Regions from separate parts of the Homo sapiens genome. Here region 2 is linked to region 1. Evidence: promoter capture Hi-C in human tissues and cell types (Jung and others, 2019). All regions are on one chromosome and are shown on one strand. Each heading gives the region's core, a stretch centred on a gene start or on the middle of the fragment in contact. The rest is flanking DNA. Distances are from core to core; before and after follow the strand shown. Region 1 holds the start of PRLHR (prolactin releasing hormone receptor). Region 2 has its middle 8.2 kb from the start of EMX2.

Region 1 (5,241 bases), core at 533-3,032:
AGGGCATAAAGAAGAAATAAGAAATCCTCTTCCCTCTCTTTGGCCTCCCCCAAGCAAAGAGCAAGACTCTCACCAAAGCCCGCTTAACATTTTACAAACACACAAGGACAAGACAGACAGCCGGACAAGAGGGCTGGGCTGGAAATGTTGCCCTATGTTGGCTTAGCTAGCTCTGGTGCTGAGAATAAGCACCAGATTGACCTCGAGTGGTGCCCTAGGAGGCCAGTTGAAGTGGAGCTCCTTGACCAAGGCCTGGCTAAGTGGCATCAGATGACCACGCTGACGGTCATATTCTGGCCATGGGGGGCTATCTTGCGGGGCCAAGCGACCAACAGTTTGCGCAGCTCCTCGCGGAAGCTGTCGTGCAGCCAGGCGTAGATGAAGGGGTTGTAGCAGGCCGAACTCATGGCGAGCCAGTGGCAGAGCAGCTGCACCAGCCCAAAGGCGTAAGGGTCGATGGCGTGGGGGTCGAGGTCCCGCAGCAGGTTGAAGACGTGCAGCGGCAGCCAGCAGACGGCGAACACCACCACGATCACCACCAGCAAGCAGAAGGTGCGCCGGCGCCGAGCGCGGTCCCAGTCGGCCTGGCTCTGGGTCACGCAGCCCGGCACCACGCGGTTGCGGAGCTTCACTGACACCCGGACGTAAGACAGGAGGATGACCAGCAGAGGGAGCAGGTAGGTGACCAGCAGCAGCCCCCAGGCGTAGAGCTGGCGCTGGCGCTCCTGGGAGCCCCAGAACTCCTCGCAGAGGCGCACGTCGTGCGGCTTGAGCTCCACGTGATAGGTGTGCACGGCGGCGGGCAGCGCCAGCACCGCGGACAGCGCCCAGATGGCCAGCACAGCGTAGGCGCTGAGGCGCAGCGAGATGCGCCGCCTCAGCGGGTGCACCAGCACGACGTAGCGGTCCACTGCGATGGTGGTGAGCGTGAACACCGACACATAGACGGTGACCGGCTGCAGGAAGAAGACCAGGTGGCACAGGCCGCCGCCGAACACCCAGCCGCGTGGCTCGAAGGCATAGGCCAGCGTGAGCGGCACGCAGGCGGTGCACATGAGCACGTCGGACAAGGCCAGGTTGCCGATGAGGAAGTTCGTCACGTTGTGCAGCCGGCGCACCCGCGCGATCACCAGCACCAGCAGGCAGTTGCCCACCAGCCCCACGACCACCACGACGCTGTAGAGCAGCACGATCAGCCCCTTCAGCTGATGCACCAGCTGCAGGCTCTGGAAGGGCGTGACGGCTGGAGCGTCCGCGCCAGCCACCGACCCGTTGCCCGCCGAGGCCTCTGCGCTCTGGTTGGCGGGAGTTGTGACCGCCGGCGGCAGCCCAGAAAATAAGTCAGAAACCCTGGGGCCCCGAGTGGTCGATGAGGCCATGGCCACCTGTTCAAAGGTAATCAAAGTCCGTCACTTCCCTTGCCATACTCCATCCGACCTCCTACACCAGCCGCGCCCCTCCCCCATCGCCTGAGTCCTCCCTTGGGAATAACCGGCCACAGAACAACAGCAAAAGTAGCAAAAAGTGTTGTCCTCTCACCTCTGTAAAATAAACCTAAGCACGGTTAGAACATACGGTTTATTTAAACGCTTCCGCCTCTATTTACGGTCCTCGCAGTCCACGCAGGCAGACTCAGGAGCGCGATCCTACCTGGGAGTGGGGTTTGGAGAGCGGGAAAGCACTCGCGGGAAGAAGGGGCAGAATTTCTGCTGGCCCTCGGTAGTCCTCTGCCCACGTCGGTGATCCGGTCTCGCTTCTCCGCGGGAGCTGAACGGATCCAAATGTTTCCCAGTGGGCTAGCAGCTTCTTAGAGGGACTGGGAGCGCCTCCCCTCAGCTCCGCCCCCCACTCCAGCTCCCATGTATGGAAAATAGGGGTGGAGCGCGCTCTGCCATGCTCGGTGCTTAGAGAACTAGTGAAGAGGACAGTGTGGGGAGGATGGAATCCGAAACGGGAGGAGGGGCCGGCAAACCTGGCCAGAGCAGCGAAGAGGACGAATCTCTACTGCAGGAGCTTGCACGGCCCCTGGAGGGTCAGGGTCCGGAGGAGCGCACAGTGGAGGAGGGCGGAGGAGAGGCGCGAAGCGTCAGGCTATCGGGAGGAGCCGGTGCAGTCTTAGGAGGGAAGGAGCGGGGAAGGAAGTAGCGGTGGGAGATTGCAATGCAGCTGGGGGCTTGAGAGAGGCACGACTGACCCGTTCTTAAAGGCTGGATCCTGCCTAGCGGCCAGGTTGCGGAGGGCAGAGACGCTAGAGGGCTCGGGCTGGGATTTAACAGCAGAGCCTGGAGCTGGTCGCGGACCTGAGGACCCTCACCCTCCCGTGGCCCCGCCACACGAGCCCCCTGCTTGGCTGCAGCGCGCTCAGCGGGCAGCGGGTCCGGCCAAGCCAAAGGCAGGAGTCAGCACCACGGACAGCTTCCGCTGGATCTGCCGCCCCTCGGGCGGATGATGTGGGGAGGAGCAGGGGAAAATGACTAGGGAATTCCTGCCCCTCTCTGGATCCGGGTGTTTGGGGAAGGAACCTGGTCCGGTTCAAAGACCTGCCTCGCTGCCTGCTTTCTGGGCTGGGGCTGAGAAGAGTAGGGTGGAGTGGAGGCAGCTGAGCCGGGGGCCTGGGGGTCGGAGACTCATGACTTTTGCTCCTCTTGGTGGTCACCGCACTCAGTGCCAAGGACGGCGTCGTCTTTTACCTCCCGGGGTCAGAAAATGCAGCTCTCCTGCCAGTTATTCTACACAGGCACACTTCAGTCTGGCCCAGCGACTCCCCGGCTCACCCTTTCTCTCGCTTTCTTTCTCGGCTACCGCGACCTGTGCCGTATCTGGCTGCTTCTCCCAGCACAGAGTAGTTCCTGGACTGAGACTTGACCCCTCCCTCCTTGACTGAACACCCACAGGCCTCTTCTCTTCATTTTAGGATTTTTTAAAAATACTGGTAATTGCAGATTTCAGCTAGGGTAACAAAAGTAACAAACATTTGAGAAGCTTAGGCGTTTCATAAAATCTTCAGTAGTATTAAGTCCTCATTGAAATGCAAATTAGCCTGGCCCACGGGGCAAGAGCCAGGGGAGGAGGGGCCTTTGTAAGCTCCCTCCTTAGAAGCTATCTCATTCCCTCAGCCTCTTGTTTCCTTTTTCCAGAGCATGGAGCTTCATTGTCTCCTCTCTGATAAGTCCTTGTACTTTGTCCTCTGGCTGCAGATATTCCAGTTAGACTGGAAACTAATATCAATTTATTCCACCCTCCAAATTTAAATGAATCACTCATATAGAAAAAAGTCAATATTGGAACAAAAGTAATCAATGTTATGCACCTCTGTCCATCCTAAGCTCACGGTCCCTGAGTTATAATCAATTTAGCTAAAACCAGTGTGTGTGTATATATACATGTATATGTTAGGACAAGATCTCACTCTGTCACCCAGGCTGGAGTGCAGTGGCACAATCATGGCTCACTGCAGCCTCAACCTCCCAGGCCAAAGCCATCCTCCCACCTCTCAGCCTCTCAAGTAGCTGGAACTACGGGTGCACACCACCATGCCTGACTAATTTTTGTTTATTTGTTTCTTTTGAGGCGGAGTCTTGCTCTGTCGCCAGGCTGGAGTGCAGTGGTGTGATCTCAGCTCACTGCAACCTCTGCCTCCCAGGTTCAAGCGATTCTCCTGCCTCAGCCTCCCGAGTAGCTGTGACTACAGGCACGTGCCACCATGCCCAGATGATTTTGTATTTTTAGTAGAGACGGGGTTTCACCATGTTGGCCAGGATGGTCTTGATCTCTTGACCTCGTGATCCGCCCACCTCGGCCTCCCAAAGTGCTGGAATTACACACGTAAGCCACTGCGCCTGGCCTAATTTTTTGTAGAGGTGAGGTTTTGCCATGTTGCCCAGGCTGACTGAACTCCTAGGCTCAAGCAATCCTCCCGCTTCAGACTCCCAAAGTTCTGGGATTACAAGCATGAGCTACTGCACCCAGTCTCAGTATTATATATACTTTTTTAATTGCAGAGCTCTAAATAGGATACAATCAGTGCCTGCCTAATACCTTGCCCAGTAATTTTTCTCATCATTTTCACCTGCAGGGTTTTATGCACCCAAGAGCAGGGGCACTCTTTTGTTTCAAAATCTCTTAAGCAGAGGAAATTGCGATAAAGTCAGTGAAAAAGGATTTGGGATGTTGTTAGGCCTCCTAACTAGAGCCATCATTCTGGTCAATATCATTATATTGGTCAATTATCATATATAATAGTAAAAGTAATAATACGAAGACAACTTTGTCAATAACTGAAGGTCATGTAAACATGGATATTTGAAGTTTCAATATTGGGGCACCCTCCAGAGGAAAGAGTGGATCATTTGCCAAATTCCAGATAAAGTTGGGCAAGCATTTTAGTATTATCAATATTTGCAAGGTGGAAAGGAAGTGAACAGCTGTCCTTTGAAGAGGGAATGAAGATTTAATGTGGCCTATTAGGGCTTCATTCCCTCTTCTCCTCACTGGAGTTAAGGCTAGTCCCTCTCCCAGCCAGCACATCATGATTAAATCATGCTAATGTTCAGACTGTCCAGTACTAAGAATGCTCCAAAAACCTGAGAGAGCATAAATAAACAAAAAAAAATAGGATAAATGAAGGAAAGGTAATACTTCATACAGTAGACAGCAAACTATGGGATTTTACTTCCTCCCATTCTCCAAAAGTCTTCAATAGCCCATCCAACCAAGGCCAGATGCTTTCGCATGGTATTTCCAACCAGTGTGCACTCCCTTTCTGATATGTCCTCATTTTTTTGGTCTAGCTTCCCACCTCTGTCCATTTTACTTCCTAGGTACAAGCCAAACTTTGCTGGGTGCTGAGATATCCTCACCATTCCTGTCTAATTCCTCTCTTAAGGTTTATTTCTTTTCTCCACAATGTCAGTTGTTTAATCCCCACTCAACTCTACCTGTCCACATTCTTCACATCCTACAAGACCCAACCCAAGGACAACTGTTCTCAAAGACTTGTCCCTTCCATAATCTTTCTGTCTTTTATTAATTTCTACCTTGAAATTACGGAAGTGTTTAGCTTCCCTGCCTCCACCAACCCTGACTGTAAATTCTTTATGGACAGGGCCAATGTCTTGATACATTTTGTACCTACAACATGCCACGAGCCCAGCAGATACCCAATACATGTGTTTTTCTTTTTCTTTTTTTTTATTGAATGAATAAAAATAGTTACCATTTACTTAGGGCTTTAGGCATGCC
Region 2 (4,806 bases), core at 232-2,731, 1.1 Mb before region 1:
CAAGGCTGGGAACTGGACCAGATCCCAAGTGGGCTCTGGGCCTCACTGAACCTCAAGTTTTGCCAGAAGTGGGGAGACTAAACTGCCTGTTCCAGGTTTTAGCCAAGTTTCTTTGTTTTGTTCTACAAGATGTTCACCAGGTAACCGTTTGGGGGTTTTTGCTTTTGAGAAATAAACAGCCCACGGCATCCTGACAGTCTCCTCTCCCTCTTGCCCTTTTGCTGAGCCTACCCTCCCTACCTCCCCACCTCACCAGCCCAATTTCCTTCCCCAGCTCCCAAGCTTCTGAGTTAGCAGCCTCCTGTTTATTAAGCTGTAAAGTTAGGACGGTTCTCATTTCTGATCTTTTCTTTGGCTACACCTGACTTCGTCTCTTTTTTTCTTTTTTCCCCCCACCTCCCTAAACTAAATCACTTGCGCGGTTCTTGCCTTTTAACGGAGCGATAACGTGAGGACATCTGAAATTCCGACTTTATTTTCCTCCAGCACACCTGGCCCCTGCCCTCCAACGGGAACTCCCGACTGCTTGCTTATTTTAGCTCTCAATTGGTATTAAAAGCAGACTGTAGTTGGGACCATCTGATCTGTAAACGATGCAAGCCCTAGACAGCTTTTCCCAGTCCGGGGTAGGGACGGGCGGCCGCGAGCTGGGGCAGAGGACCTGCGGGAGCCCGCGCAGCGCCTCCGCTCTGCCAGGCCCCTCCGCATCGGGCACCCAGGCTGGAGCCCTGCAGTTTGTCGTCTGGAGCCCGGAACCCGAGGTGAAAGGCCTCCGCTGAGCTCCCAGACTCCTCAGCCGAGCATATGCTGCACTCCTCACATTCATTTTTAATTCATGACATCAGTTTAGGGATCACTAGAGCCTCTAAACAGCCTCTCTCAAAACCAAAACAACCACCATAACACAAGCGAGGACAGGAGACGGCCGCGGAGTCCAGAACATCAGAACATCGGCTCCTCTGTCCCCGGGGAATAAACATTTGGAAAATCACTTTCCAATGGGGACCTGCTGTCCCTCACAGCAGCTACCTTCCCCCCAACTTTGTCCTAGAGCCGACAGTGGACTCCAGGGTATTTTGCTATAAAGACATAGCTGGTTTCAAAGTGGCTTCGATTAGGACTTTATAAAGTTACATTAAAATGATCAAATGCATACTTGGAGATTAAAGGCTCTCCCAAATACATTCACACACACACACATCTAGAATTGTATACAACATACATTGTATAATAATATATGATAAAACATTGTTAGATAAGTAATATAACAACATTATATCGGAACTGGATGTTAAATATTAATTTATGATATGAAACCACATAATACATATTTATATGTTAAACAGCATATAATACAAACGGAACATCTATGTTATAGATGGTACATAGGAGACATCGTGTCCTCTGAAATAGCCCAGGTACCGATCTGCTCCTTGTCGCCGAGCACCAGCTCAGTACAAGGCGCTGGAGGGGAAGGAGGGAAGCACATCAGCGTCTCCTCATAGTGATGCAGCCACCCCAGCCCTCACCCTATCCCAGTTCCCCACGCGCCCACGTGCCTTTGGGGTGGATGAAAAGATCTCAAACGACCAGCTCCTCATTGGGGTAAAGGAGTGAAGAGATTATCTCTGATAGAGGTCAAACTCCAATTGGGAGGAGGGCACCAATTCTGTAAATGACACCCGAGGGCACACTCACCAGGTTCACTGCAAGCCCTGAGCGTTTTGCGTTTGGTGCCCCGAGTGTAAGCCTAAGTATTCTGTCTCCGACACGTAAAACAACTTAAAGTGCCATTTTCCAACGGAGGCATTTAGAGGCAATTTGAAAATTGAAACGAATCTTTATATGCAAGACTGGAACGTTCCAGAGGCCCTTTAAAGCTGCGGTTAGAAAGGCAGTTAGGGAACTCAATGATGGGCTGGAAGGAGACGATTGAACGCACAGCCAAATGCACAGTTAGAAATTTGATATTAAACACGCTCTCTCAAGTAATGCAGTTTAATGATAATTGCTGCGTGTTTACTCTTCACTGGTTGGGGAAATAGAAGAAACATTTTGACAGAAAAGTTACCCTAAAGAGTTACACCATTTACAAGGGGAAAATATCTCAGTGGCCGCTGCTGGCTTACTAGCAACCCAAAACAGTGTGTGGGGGGAATTAGTTTTTCTCCAGAGCTACCGAGAAGGGGAACCTCAACATCAAGTGTCTGGCAGATGGGAGTGTGTGTTAAGCGAGGGCTGTTTTCGTTGGGAACGCACAGCACAGCTCCCTTCCTCAGAGCCACCTCCAGACCCCTCGGCCCTCCCACGACCCCCAGTTCCCGGGTCCGAGGTTCTGGGCGCCAGCGGCGGCCACCGCGCCGCGCGAGCAGCTTTTATTCGCACTCTCTTTAACTCGCCCTTTCTGGTTCTCTTCCCTTCGAGCGCCCTGCAGCGGAGTGTTAGACAAGCCCTGTTGTCTGTGGGCTCTCACCTCAGAGTCAATATTATCTCAGATGGGCACAATAGACTGGAATGAAAAGCTAATATTGAATCAATGCTGTCCCTGTCCGCGCCGCTGCGATGCCACCCTTTGTTGCGCACGCCGCCCCCGGCAAGCTGCTGGCGGCCGGGGCTAAGCGGAGGGCGGCCGCGGTCGGGCCTCTCCGGGTCCACGCCAGGGGTGGGAGGACACTTCGGGCCCAGCGTAGAGGAGGCCTCCGAGGCCCAAGCGGGCTTCGGCTGCTGCGAGTCCCCAGAGGCTCCCTCGGGCCTCACTCGCGGTGTCTCCTCCAGACGCCAGGGGCAGGCCACGAAGCCGAGGGCTCCGCGTGGCCGTGGGAGAAGCGGGGTGCACGGAGCCTTCCCGCGCCCAGACGCCGAGGGGATGCAAACAGGGGAGCCGGGCCTGGTATGGCCAACCTCCAGGATCGAGGGGCCCCAGAATGTGCGTGTGGCCGGGGGCGGGGGCAGCTGCGGGGGCCAGAACTAGAGTATTCCTTCGCTCTCCCCTGGGGGCCGGGCCCCCACGAGTTGCAGCAGAGCCCGTCTGTAATTAGGGCCTCCTGGTCCGGCAAAGCTGCGGCTGCTCCCAGAGAGAGTTGGGGTCTTCTCAGGGCCCGCGATGGGGGAGTGGTCGTGGTCAGACCCCCGTGAGCCCCTTCGGAAGGTCCCAGTCCCTGTCCATTCTTCTGTCCCGCAGCTCTCTCCGCGCAGGCGGGGCAGAGCCGGGGAAGAAGACGCTGGACGAGGGGTCTTGGGGCCGCCTCGCTGGCTGCGGTTGGAAGCACCCGTTTTCCCGCCCGCCCGCGCAGGCGCTGCTCTGTGGCCACCAGCAGAGGTTTCCCGGCCGCTGTGAGTCGCCCACGCGAGCGACGTGGGGATACGGGGCGCACGGAGTCTCAGCTGCCGCCACGCAGCGCTTGCCCTGCCCGAGCTTCGGCTCACTGGCAGCGGCGAGGCCACCGACCACCCTCCGCCTTCCAGTCCTAAACTCGGGGCTGGAGACCGCAGGAGCTAAACCAGGAAGAAGAAAGAGGGCAGGGCCTGAGGCCGGGAAGAGCGGCCCGGGGGTCAACGGTGAGCGGGTGCATACGAGGCAAGAGCCAGAGTGACATTAAGTGGGGCCGCCCGGGCAAACCTTGCGCGTGCACCCCGGCCCACCTGCAGGGCATTCTCCCCTGCCTTTTCTCCTTGGCTTGAGTGCGGGCGGCTGACTCCTGTGGGCGGGGAGGAGAGGGTGGTCTTCCCAGGGCTCCAAGTGGAGTGATCACTGCACCCATGGCCAGGAGGTGGGGGTGCGCGGAGTGATTTTTGTAACTTCCCTGAGCCTCAGTTTTCTCATCTGAAAAGTGGGTATCACGACTGTTTCCCTGACCACACCAGGTTGTGATGTTCACTGAAATCATGGGCTTGAGCACACATACTTTTAAAAAATTGCTAAAACTCGATACAGGTGAGAGGAATTGTTAGTTTTCTTGTAAGTCTTGCCCCAATCCTCCCCATATTTCAAGGAGGGCCGCAGAGTCCAAAATAAAAAACCTCCAGTTTCCTTTTTTTCCTCAGTTGGCTGGATTTCCCCTCCAAGCCCCAGCCCAGCCCCCACGTCCAGAAAATGGGGAAGTATTAAAGGAAGAGACGATTAAGCCCCTGAGAGTGTGGCTCCTGGGACGCCAGCGTTTCAGAAGTAGCATAGGCTCCTAGATGGACGCTGACAAACCCAAGTAGCGCCTTACATTGTCGGGCGAGGACCAGACTCCAAGTTAAAAGGCCGGCCGGGCTATCAGTGGCAGAGAGCAGAGCCTCAAACACGAAAAGCCAGAAAGCGCTGCAGAGGCGTGGAAGGTGCGCCCCGCTTCGCTCCCCATGCTGGTCCTCTGGGAACTCAGGAGCCGGTGCACGCTCTGGTGGGCTCATAGAGATGTAGCTTTGGGGGCGATGGGAAGGACTTGCCACGCTCCCACCCACCCTCCATCCCGAGAGAGTGCAAGGGAGACGCAACTGTCTTCATCCCTATCCCGGGCTGGCGCCCGAACTAGAGAGTGTACTTCTTCCCTAGCTCCTGCACCACCGTCTGTGTGTACGTCTGTCTGTCCCTCCCAGTCCTTGCTCGGTCCTAGGCTTTCATTTGAAGGCAGCTGAGGGAGAAAGAAACTGCAAACCCCTTTGGTTCTGTTTCCTTGCTTTCAATAATGAATCGAGACAGCGTGTGTGTGGTGAGGGAGTGACGAGTTTCAACGTGATGAAGGAGATAAAACCCGACGGTGGGGTCCTGCCAGTGGCTCCATGCGTCACTGAAACATTGGGTCTCAAAACGGATAGATCTCC

The links. The method cuts DNA at HindIII sites, captures the fragments that hold promoters and counts their contacts. A contact is called where the count stands out against the background at its distance.
Region 2: a fragment that was not itself captured here is called in contact with the fragment with the promoter of PRLHR in region 1 in 1 of the 25 tissues and cell types used here (spleen).

What each region holds. Positions count from the first base shown.
Region 1 is chr10:118,593,866-118,599,106 of GRCh38, forward strand. It overlaps PRLHR (prolactin releasing hormone receptor), which reads right to left and starts at 1,783. Exons shown (of 2, transcript NM_004248.3): 1 at 1,651-1,783; 2 at 1-1,385. The coding sequence starts at 1,379. The coding sequence ends at 267. RefSeq lists enhancers at 742-1,550, 1,551-2,359, 2,360-3,168. The HindIII fragment of the contact is 7,132 bases long and covers 1-4,361 here.
Region 2 is chr10:117,532,110-117,536,915 of GRCh38, forward strand. It overlaps EMX2OS. Among named protein-coding and RNA genes, the nearest start is that of EMX2, 8.2 kb to the right of the region's middle. RefSeq lists an enhancer at 2,767-3,730. The HindIII fragment of the contact is 5,626 bases long and covers 1-4,294 here.